Regions from separate parts of the Homo sapiens genome. Here all the other regions are linked to region 2. The links are contacts of gene promoters, found by promoter capture Hi-C in blood cells and fetal thymus (Javierre and others, 2016). All regions are on one chromosome and are shown on one strand. Each heading gives the region's core, a stretch centred on a gene start or on the middle of the fragment in contact. The rest is flanking DNA. Distances are from core to core; before and after follow the strand shown. Region 1 overlaps NHEJ1 (non-homologous end joining factor 1). Region 2 holds the start of WNT6 (Wnt family member 6). Region 3 overlaps NHEJ1 (non-homologous end joining factor 1).

Region 1 (2,700 bases), core at 11-2,510, 260 kb before region 2:
CTGAAGGGGGCCCCTCAGTTGAAGGCAGCTCAAGTCTGGCCTTTATTGAGGTCTGGGACTGCAGAGAGCTCTGGGGAGTGGCCCTGTAATCAGCCAGCCACCAACCCCACACTGCCTTGTAATAAAGCAGCACTATATTTGTTCTGTTTATAGTCTTCTCTGTAATAATGTCACAGCCCTCACTTCTCTCTCTCTTTGGGGAGATTTTCTGGGTAATAGAAAATTTTAAAATGTTAAAGAGTGTTGTAGACTCCGAAAATGTTTTTATCTAGGATGTGTCTTAAGTTGGGAAGATGCCCAGGAAATGCAGGCAGCTGGTAGCCTTAAGAAGGAGTGTGCTGTGGTGAGTGTGTTGTATGTGTGTGCACTGTGGCTGTGAGGACCATGTGTGAGGAGGGGCGGTGTGGGAGAAGGTGTGGGTGTGTGTCATGTGGTTGGAGTAGGTGTGGGGTGCACTCCTCTCGTGGTGGTGGTGGTGAGTAGAGAGTGTGGTTGGAGTGGGTGTATGAGAGGTGTGCAGAAGGGGCCAGTGCAGTAATGGAAAACCCTGTTTGGGCAAATTTCAAAACGGTCAGATATGCTGGATGGTGAGAACTCAAATTTAGCTCCAGAATGGAACCTTTTAAAGCTTACATTCCACTCATTCTTTCAACTGATGCCCGCTTTCCTCTGCTTCCCAGCCTTTTCAGGCCTAGGCTCCACAGTTTTGCTGATATCAATTCTTTATTCCTCTTCCCTACTCCTCCCAGTTCCTCACCTCTTTCTTTGTTAACCAGGAAGAAGTCAGAGACGGACTGTTGTAGAGGGAGTGAACAGTAAGCCATGCTGATCTAGGTTGATGACAGCTGGCCTGATGTCCCAGGCTGAAGTCTTTGAGGTTTACCCAGGGTGGCGAATGCTGGGGGCTGCCATTGCTAGGGTTATTGCTAACAATTTCGATTCCTCCTATTTCCTTCTCCCTCTCTCTACCTCTGCCCCCACCGCCAGGATTCTATAAATACTTTATTATATGGCACTAATAAAACTTCAAGTATTTCTTTTTATTAGAGCTACATAATATGGTAATTGTGTGACAGAACACAGCGCCTGAGAGTAGCCCCCACCCTCTTCCTAGGTGTGGCCTCTCACCACCTCAGCTTGGGCTAGGCCTACAGGCCTCTCTGTTCCTCTTGAGTGTGGGTAAAGGGGGTCGGATCAGCTTTTCAGGCAGAGCTAAGGGGTGAAGGCCTTTGAGTAGGATCAGGCTAGAGGAGTAAAGACGCACTTTTCTAGTTTTAAATGTAGTCTGTCTTGGTGGATGAGTACAGCAGGAATCTTATTAGCATTAATTCCAGCCACTGCATGGGGTTACTTAACCTGCCTTTCCTTTTAATAGTTCTGTCATGTGACATAGAAGTAGATTTTGAACTTAGACCCAGGGCTAGGCGTACATGGGTTTCTTTGGTTAACTTTGATTCACAGTACTTTTTGTTTTGTTGTTTTTGTTTGTTTTTAATAATGATCATCATTCTTTCTGATGTTTCCTGGGTTGAGGATCTGTAGGTGGAAAAAGATTCTGACTCCTTCTGTCTCTCACTGCATCAGTCGTAGAATAGCTTTCCGCTTAAGTCTCAGTCATTGTTTTCTGTGTCCACTAGTCTCATGGGAGGGTATGGGGCTGGAAACTCCAGTCTATAGAACTTTACTTACTGTTAATGTGTGATCTACAAAATATGTCTTTGTTGCCTAATTGAGCCTTGTAATTTGATTCTGGTTTTTGTCCTATGTGATCTGACTGTCAACCTTTCCTACCCCTCTACTGTAGCTATTGAACTAGGTCAGTGTATCCCTACCAGTGTTTTTCTGAATTGAGTATGATTTAGCCTCTACATCCTAACTTCTCCAAAGCTTGAGAATTGGGGATTCCTGCCTGGGTAGCTACTAACAGAGCCCCCCAGTGCCAGGGACGTAGGACACAATGTTTAGTTCTTTCTTAACTGCCTGTGTGCCCAGTGTTTGCATAGGGGCCAAGCTCCAAACTGGCCTCCGCTATCCACTCTTTACTCCCCATGGGGATGTATGGGCATATGCGCTTTCTACTTTTTGGGCCTAGCCAAGGTTAATATTAGACCTTCTAGCTGGGCTGCTGTTCCCGAAAGCCACAGGGTGTTGTTAATATTCATGTGACCGCAGAGGCTCATCAATATTCATGAGGTATCTGCAGTCTTCCTTCAGGCCCTTAGTTTGGAGAAAACAGGAATGATTAGAGTTTCTAGAACTTAAAACTAACCCTATTTCCTGGAGTCTATTGAGGAGGAGGCAAATCTTAAGAGTAAATGTCTGGGCCAGGAGAAAAAGCATTTTTCATGCCAATATCCTAAACTGGTCTGACAACTTAGTGGAGTTGTGCTGAATGGCTGTTATTAATGTTATCATCCTTATCCAGCATTTATTGAATACCACTGGGTTTAGGTTCTTGTACCAGTACTATGGGGGATAGGAAACTAACATATTTAAGTACTTACTGTGCCAAGGGTACAGAGATAACTAACATGATTCCTGCCCCCAAGAAGCATATGGCTCAGAAAATGAGATAGATAGGTGTACACACACTTATCTTACCAAAGTAAGAGTGCTGTAATAAAGACAAACATGAAGTGCTCAGTGAGGACAGATGAGGAAGTCATTCCCTGGTGGGGAAATTAGTGAAAGATCCCCAGG
Region 2 (2,700 bases), core at 141-2,640:
GCATCCTACTCCCTATCTCTCCAGAGCACGGGGATCTGCCTCTCTTCCAAATCTGGGGGGCGAGGGAGGAGCGGAGGGTCGGCATCCAGCCAATCACATGGCAATATGCAAATAGACACGACCCTGCCTTCTTAGGATTGGCTAACCCGTCAGCGTTATTGTCCAAGTCTCTCCTCTCTAAACACTGAGCTATTCCGGGCGAGGGTTTGCGGCTCTGGAGACCTAGGGGGAAAAAAGTCCTTTGGATCTGGATCTCTGAGCCGTCCCGGTCGGGCACCCTCCTTCCCCGCCCCGGCCCCACCCCCACCCCCAAGGCTCGAAGCTCCCGCAACCTTCGCTGCCTAGGTGTCCCTTCTAGCTAGGGCCAAGCCTGGGAAGACGCCCCCTTCCCTTGGCTGGCCAGGCCCCTCTCCCTTCCCGCAGGACCCCTCCCGGTCCCGTATCTCCCGGGCTGCACATATTTTTTCATTCATGACCCCCAGGTCTGGAAGGGCCGGGCGCCTGGGTCCGGTTCCTTCCGCTCCTCCTTTTCCTTGCTTGGGGAGGACGAGGTAGAGAAAACCAGGGTCCTGACTCACTTTCCCCTTTATATTCCCTCTGTCGTCACTAAGGCCCACTCCTCAGGAGCCCAGAGAGAAGCCGGTGGGTTGGTAGGCAAAGCAGGGCGGGGAAGGGGCAGCTGTGTGGCCCTCTCTGCCTTGTGGCTTCCCACCTTGTTCCTGTCTTCTCCAAATCCAGCCCCATACCCTGAATCCAGGGCCCTCCTCACACATTCTTTTCCTCGGATATGTGTCTTCCCGAAAGATCTTTCCTACCCACTCGCCTGTTCCTTGGTGAGCTGGGTGAGCGCATAACTTGGCGGGGGGTGGGAGAGAACCCGGGAGGAGGAAACACAATAGAATGTTCCCGAGGGTTAGGAACGTCGAAGTGGAGTTCAGAAACGCCCCCGGCCGAGGCCAGAAAGCTGGGCTCGGAGAGCAGGTAGAGCCGGGAGGCTGCGGAACACCCCAGTCTGTCCTGGGTCCCGGGGTCCCCACCCTCCAGGGTCCAGAGCCGCGCCAGGACAGCCGGACTCACCACCACAGTCCGCCGACGTGCGCCGGGCACAGGAGCAGCAGCAGCAGCAGCCCGAGGCGGGAGGGTAAGGGCGGCAGCATCGTGACCGCCCTACGGCCGCCCGGGTGGGCAGGGGGCGAGGCTGCGGGGCGAACCGCGGCGCGCGAGGGCCCGGGCTTCAGTGCGAGCGCGGCGAGCGCAACGGCGGCGGCCGGGAGGCGAGGGATCCGGCGGCGGCGGGGGGGCCCATCCCGGGCGAGGAGGGCGCGGCGGAGGCGGAGAGCGGACGGGGCAGCCAGCGCCTGTGTCTCCTGCGGAGCTCGCTCGGGAGAAGAAATCAGAGCCGGGGGCGGAGGTGGGAGGGGAGCGGGGCCGAGGCGGGGGCGGGGGGCAGGGGGCCGGAGGGAGGTGGCAGTTGCGACAGTCAGGCAGCGGGACTCTCGGGAGCGAGCCGTGCGCCCCGGGGCGGCTGGCGCGGAGCGCAGCGGAGGGCGGGAGCGGGGTGCCGGGGCGGGGCCCCAGCGCGCTTCGGGCTGTGGGACCCGCCCGCTTCGCCCCCTCGCCTCGCCTCTCTCGGACTTGGAGCCCCCCGCCGCTCGCGGCCGCCTGGAGTCGGGGGCAAGGAAGGGCTGGGAAGAAGAGTAGAGAGGGGTGAGGGGGGAGAAAGAGGAGCTGAGGAATGGGGGACGGGCTGGAAGGGAGACGTTTGACAGGTTTGTTGACTGTAAAGAGAGAAAACTTCCCAGGAATGAGGGAGTTTGGGGCGGGGGGCGGTGCGGAGGGAGATGCTGGCGCGGAGGCAAGAGAGGAAGTTGGCCTGGGGCGCGGGGTGCTTCGGCGAGGGTTGTCAAACTGGACCGCCCGACAGGCGGATGCTGGAGGGGTCATCTCTTTCCGTGTCCCTGTTCGATGCCTCATGCCCCTTCGTCAGCCTCTCCTTGAAGAAGGGAGGAAGCCCTGGGCCTCCGCTCTCGCTCCCCCAGCCATCCCACCTCTCAAGCCCGCGTTCTAGGGCGGGGAGGTGGGGGAAATGAGAGGGCAAGAGTAGCCGCTCCAGGGCGTGCGCGCAAGCGCTGGCACTTGTAAGCGAGCGGGAGAATGGAGGTCGCAGACTTTCAAGAGATCGAGGGGTCAGAATTCGCTTTAGCCCGGCCTCGCGTGTCCAAGAGTCCCTGCCTCGAGTTCCTCCCCCAACCTGGCCCGGGTAGAAGGGGTGGGAGAGCCAGCTGCAGGTGAGATGGCGTTTATCAGATTTTCTAATGCCACAAAAATGTCTTTGATGCCCCTGGCCCCCTCCCCACGAGGGGGAGATCAAAGGCTCCGTGGGGAAGAGGGACAGCTCCATTCATCATGCCATTCGGCTGGCAGTGGGCAGCAGCCCCTGCCCCTCCCGTCCCCGACGTGCCCCGGGGTGCCAAGGGACAGGTGGTGTGGGACATTCTCCCTGCCATACCATCAAGAGCAACCATCAACCTTTAAAGCTGTCCTGGAGTGGGGAGGACAGATCGAGTCCCTATGGCAGAAACGTCAGGCGCCCAGAAGAAAGCTCCTGGTTGTTGGTAGAGAGGGGGACCTGAATGTGGGGACTGAGGTCGCTTCCAAGAGAGTGATGACTGAGGTCACTTCCAAACAACCTTGGTGAGC
Region 3 (2,700 bases), core at 155-2,654, 280 kb before region 2:
TTTTGAACCCTAAATTAGCACTTTTTAAAGGGCTAGGCATAAAGCAGGTATTCTTTATTTGGAACCTCCTGTTCTGCCTCTGTGCATTGACTGAGCTACAATGCTTGGGGTCTAAACACTAAAAGCAAAAAATGTGAGGTAGGTGCTCAGTCCAGGTACTGAAGCAATTGTAAGTCTGAAGAAGAAGGAAAACTTGTATTGCTAAGTCCTGAAAGAGAAAAGGTTTCAAGTCTTTTTGTTGTTGTTGTTGTTGTTGTTGTTGTTTTTGAAACGAAGCCTCACTTGCTCTGTCACCCAGACTGGAGTGCCATGGCACAATCTTGGCTCACTGCAACATCCCTTTCCCAGGTTCAAGCAATTCTCCTGCCTCAGCCTTCCAAGTAGCTGGGATTACAGGTGCGCACCACCACACCCAGCTAATTTTTGTATTTTTAGTAGAAACGGGGTTTCGCCATGTTGATCAGGCTGGTCTTGAACTCCTGGCCTCAAGTGATCCACCCTCCTTGACCTCCCAAAGTACTGGGATTATAGATGTGAGCCACCATGCCTAGCCTAGAAAAGGTTTCAAGTTTTTATGGGTAAAGAGAGACCGTTAAACCTAAACTTGTGACTAAGAGAGATTTCTTAGGCCGTTTTTCTCTTAGATAGCTTCCCCTGTCTATAAGTTTAGGTATCAAGGCTGGGGATAACATGCTGGTTCCCTGCCTCATCCCCTTAGTTAAACAATGCAAGGCTTGTTCTTAGCTCAGTAGAGAGGTCTCTTCCTGATCTAGTGCCTGCATACCTCTCCAGCTTGACTTCTTGACATTTTTCTCTGTGTACTTTATGCCTTAGCTATATGGAATGACTTTTAATTTGCCCCAATGCTGTTTCATCTTGTCTTTAGATACACATTCTTCCCATGATCTAGAATGTCCAATGTTCTGGCCTTATCTAACTTGCAAACTTCTATTAATCTTCTAGATGTCAGCTTCACCTTGTTTGGGAGACCGTTCTGTACTCTGCTTGTAAAGACTATTCTTCTTCCCTGCTACTATAGTACCTTGGATTATACCTCTGTTTTACCACTTATAACATTGTAATATTACTGTTTGTATGCCTGCAAGACTATGGCTTTCTCCTCCACTGATCTGTGGACTCTTTGAGGCAAGGACCATGCTGAATGCATTTCTATATCCCCAGCACTGTGCGTGGTGCCTACAGGTAGTAAGTCTTCAATAAGTTTGGATTAATATTTTGATAAGTCTATGCTAGGGGGATTTTATACAGATTATGACACTGTGGCCTGTGGATACAGTGTTGCTTTTTTTTGGCTGGAGTGCAGTGGGGTGATCTCGGCTCACTGTAATCTCTGCCTCCCGGGTTCAAGAGATTCTTGTGCCTCAGCCTCCTGAGTAGCTGGGATTACAGGTATGCACCACCACACCTGGCTAATTTTTGTAGTTTTAGTAGAGACAGGGTTTTACCATGTTGGCCAGGCTGGTTTTGAATGCCTGGCCTCATGTGGTCCGCCCACCTTGGCCTTTCAAAGTGCTGAGATTACAGGCGTGAGCCACTGCACCTGGCTCAGTGTTGCTTATTAGACCTATATTTGGGGTCTTCAGTTATTCTCATGGCTCATTTTGCAGCTTTGGATAAATCACTTCTCATTTATAAAATTAGAGGCTCATCGTTTTCATACTATGGGGTTGGGAGGAGCCCTGCGGAATTGAATGAGAAAGCATACAGAATTTAGGTGGCAGCACAGGAAGAGTATCAGTGTTTTGGAACCAGCTACTTCAAGAATACTGGTCCTGTAGGTTCTGGGTGGATCAACCTCATAGACTTGTAGAATTTTATTATATCTGGAAAGGAAGTGAGAGATAGGTAGTTGTAGTTACAGCTTTCTATTTTATAGATGAAGAAGTTGAGCCTCAGAGAGGTTAAGTGACTTGCCTAAGGTCATATAGCTGTAGCTTTATGTTTAGGACTTCTCACATTTCTTGACACATAGTCTAGGATTATCCCTGTTTTGTTTTGCTAGTTTAACTGGTTGTACACACCTGTTAGGGGAGACATAAGGGCTGGGGTAATATGGAATTCTTGTGACCTCTGGGGTCATTGCACTGTCCTCAGAATGTCCTGTATAGCTGCTGGAACTGAAAGGTTTCCTACTGGGGCTGTAGAACTTCTTATGACTACTGCATCTTTTTAGTTACTCTGCTTGCCCGGGGTCCTACAAACAGGACACAGAAGGGTCATGGGGTCACCCAAGACTGAACTGAAAGGATGTGCCATCAAAATAAGCAAGATGGAATAGGAAGATAAACAAACCAGGGAGAGAGCTCAAGATGAAGGCGCAGGGGGGCCAGGGCTGGTGTCAGAGGGCCATGCGGTCATTGCCTGGGGTCAGTTTTTAAAATTCTCATTGGGATTATTACTAGGCAAGAGGCTATAGACAATAAGGCACAGGGGACAGTAGGCCAGGCAGGTGGCTAGGATACTAAGGCTCGGGAAAATAAGAATTGAACAGGGGTTACTTCTCCCTATTTGGTCCTTTTGTTTTTCCACTCTGTCTAAGAGCCTCTGATTTCTCAATTCTGGGGAACCCAAGGAGCCAGTTGATAGTGGCCTAACTAGAGGGTGATACTGACAATATTGACTCAAGTCAAGCCTGGGTGGGATGCCTGTTGGCATGATCTTCATGGAGGCCAAGAACCC

The links. Contacts are between HindIII fragments. The CHiCAGO score rates a contact against its expected background, and 5 or more counts as called.
Region 1: a contact is called between a fragment that was not itself captured here and the fragment with the promoter of WNT6 in region 2, in 1 of 17 cell types (M2 macrophages). The highest score is 5.4, in M2 macrophages.
Region 3: a fragment that was not itself captured here is called in contact with the fragment with the promoter of WNT6 in region 2 in 1 of 17 cell types (M0 macrophages); the score reaches 6.2 in M0 macrophages.

The regions. Positions count from the first base shown.
Region 1 is chr2:219,122,254-219,124,953 of GRCh38, reverse strand. All of the region lies in intron 5 of NHEJ1 (non-homologous end joining factor 1), which reads left to right. Among named protein-coding and RNA genes, the nearest start is that of NHEJ1, 37 kb to the left of the region's middle. The HindIII fragment of the contact is 1,259 bases long and covers 631-1,889 here.
Region 2 is chr2:218,858,495-218,861,194 of GRCh38, reverse strand. It overlaps WNT6 (Wnt family member 6), which reads right to left and starts at 1,390. Exons shown (of 4, transcript NM_006522.4): 1 at 1,078-1,390. The coding sequence starts at 1,157. The HindIII fragment of the contact is 26,174 bases long and covers 1-2,700 here.
Region 3 is chr2:219,142,786-219,145,485 of GRCh38, reverse strand. All of the region lies in intron 5 of NHEJ1 (non-homologous end joining factor 1), which reads left to right. Among named protein-coding and RNA genes, the nearest start is that of NHEJ1, 17 kb to the left of the region's middle. The HindIII fragment of the contact is 4,364 bases long and covers 1-2,700 here.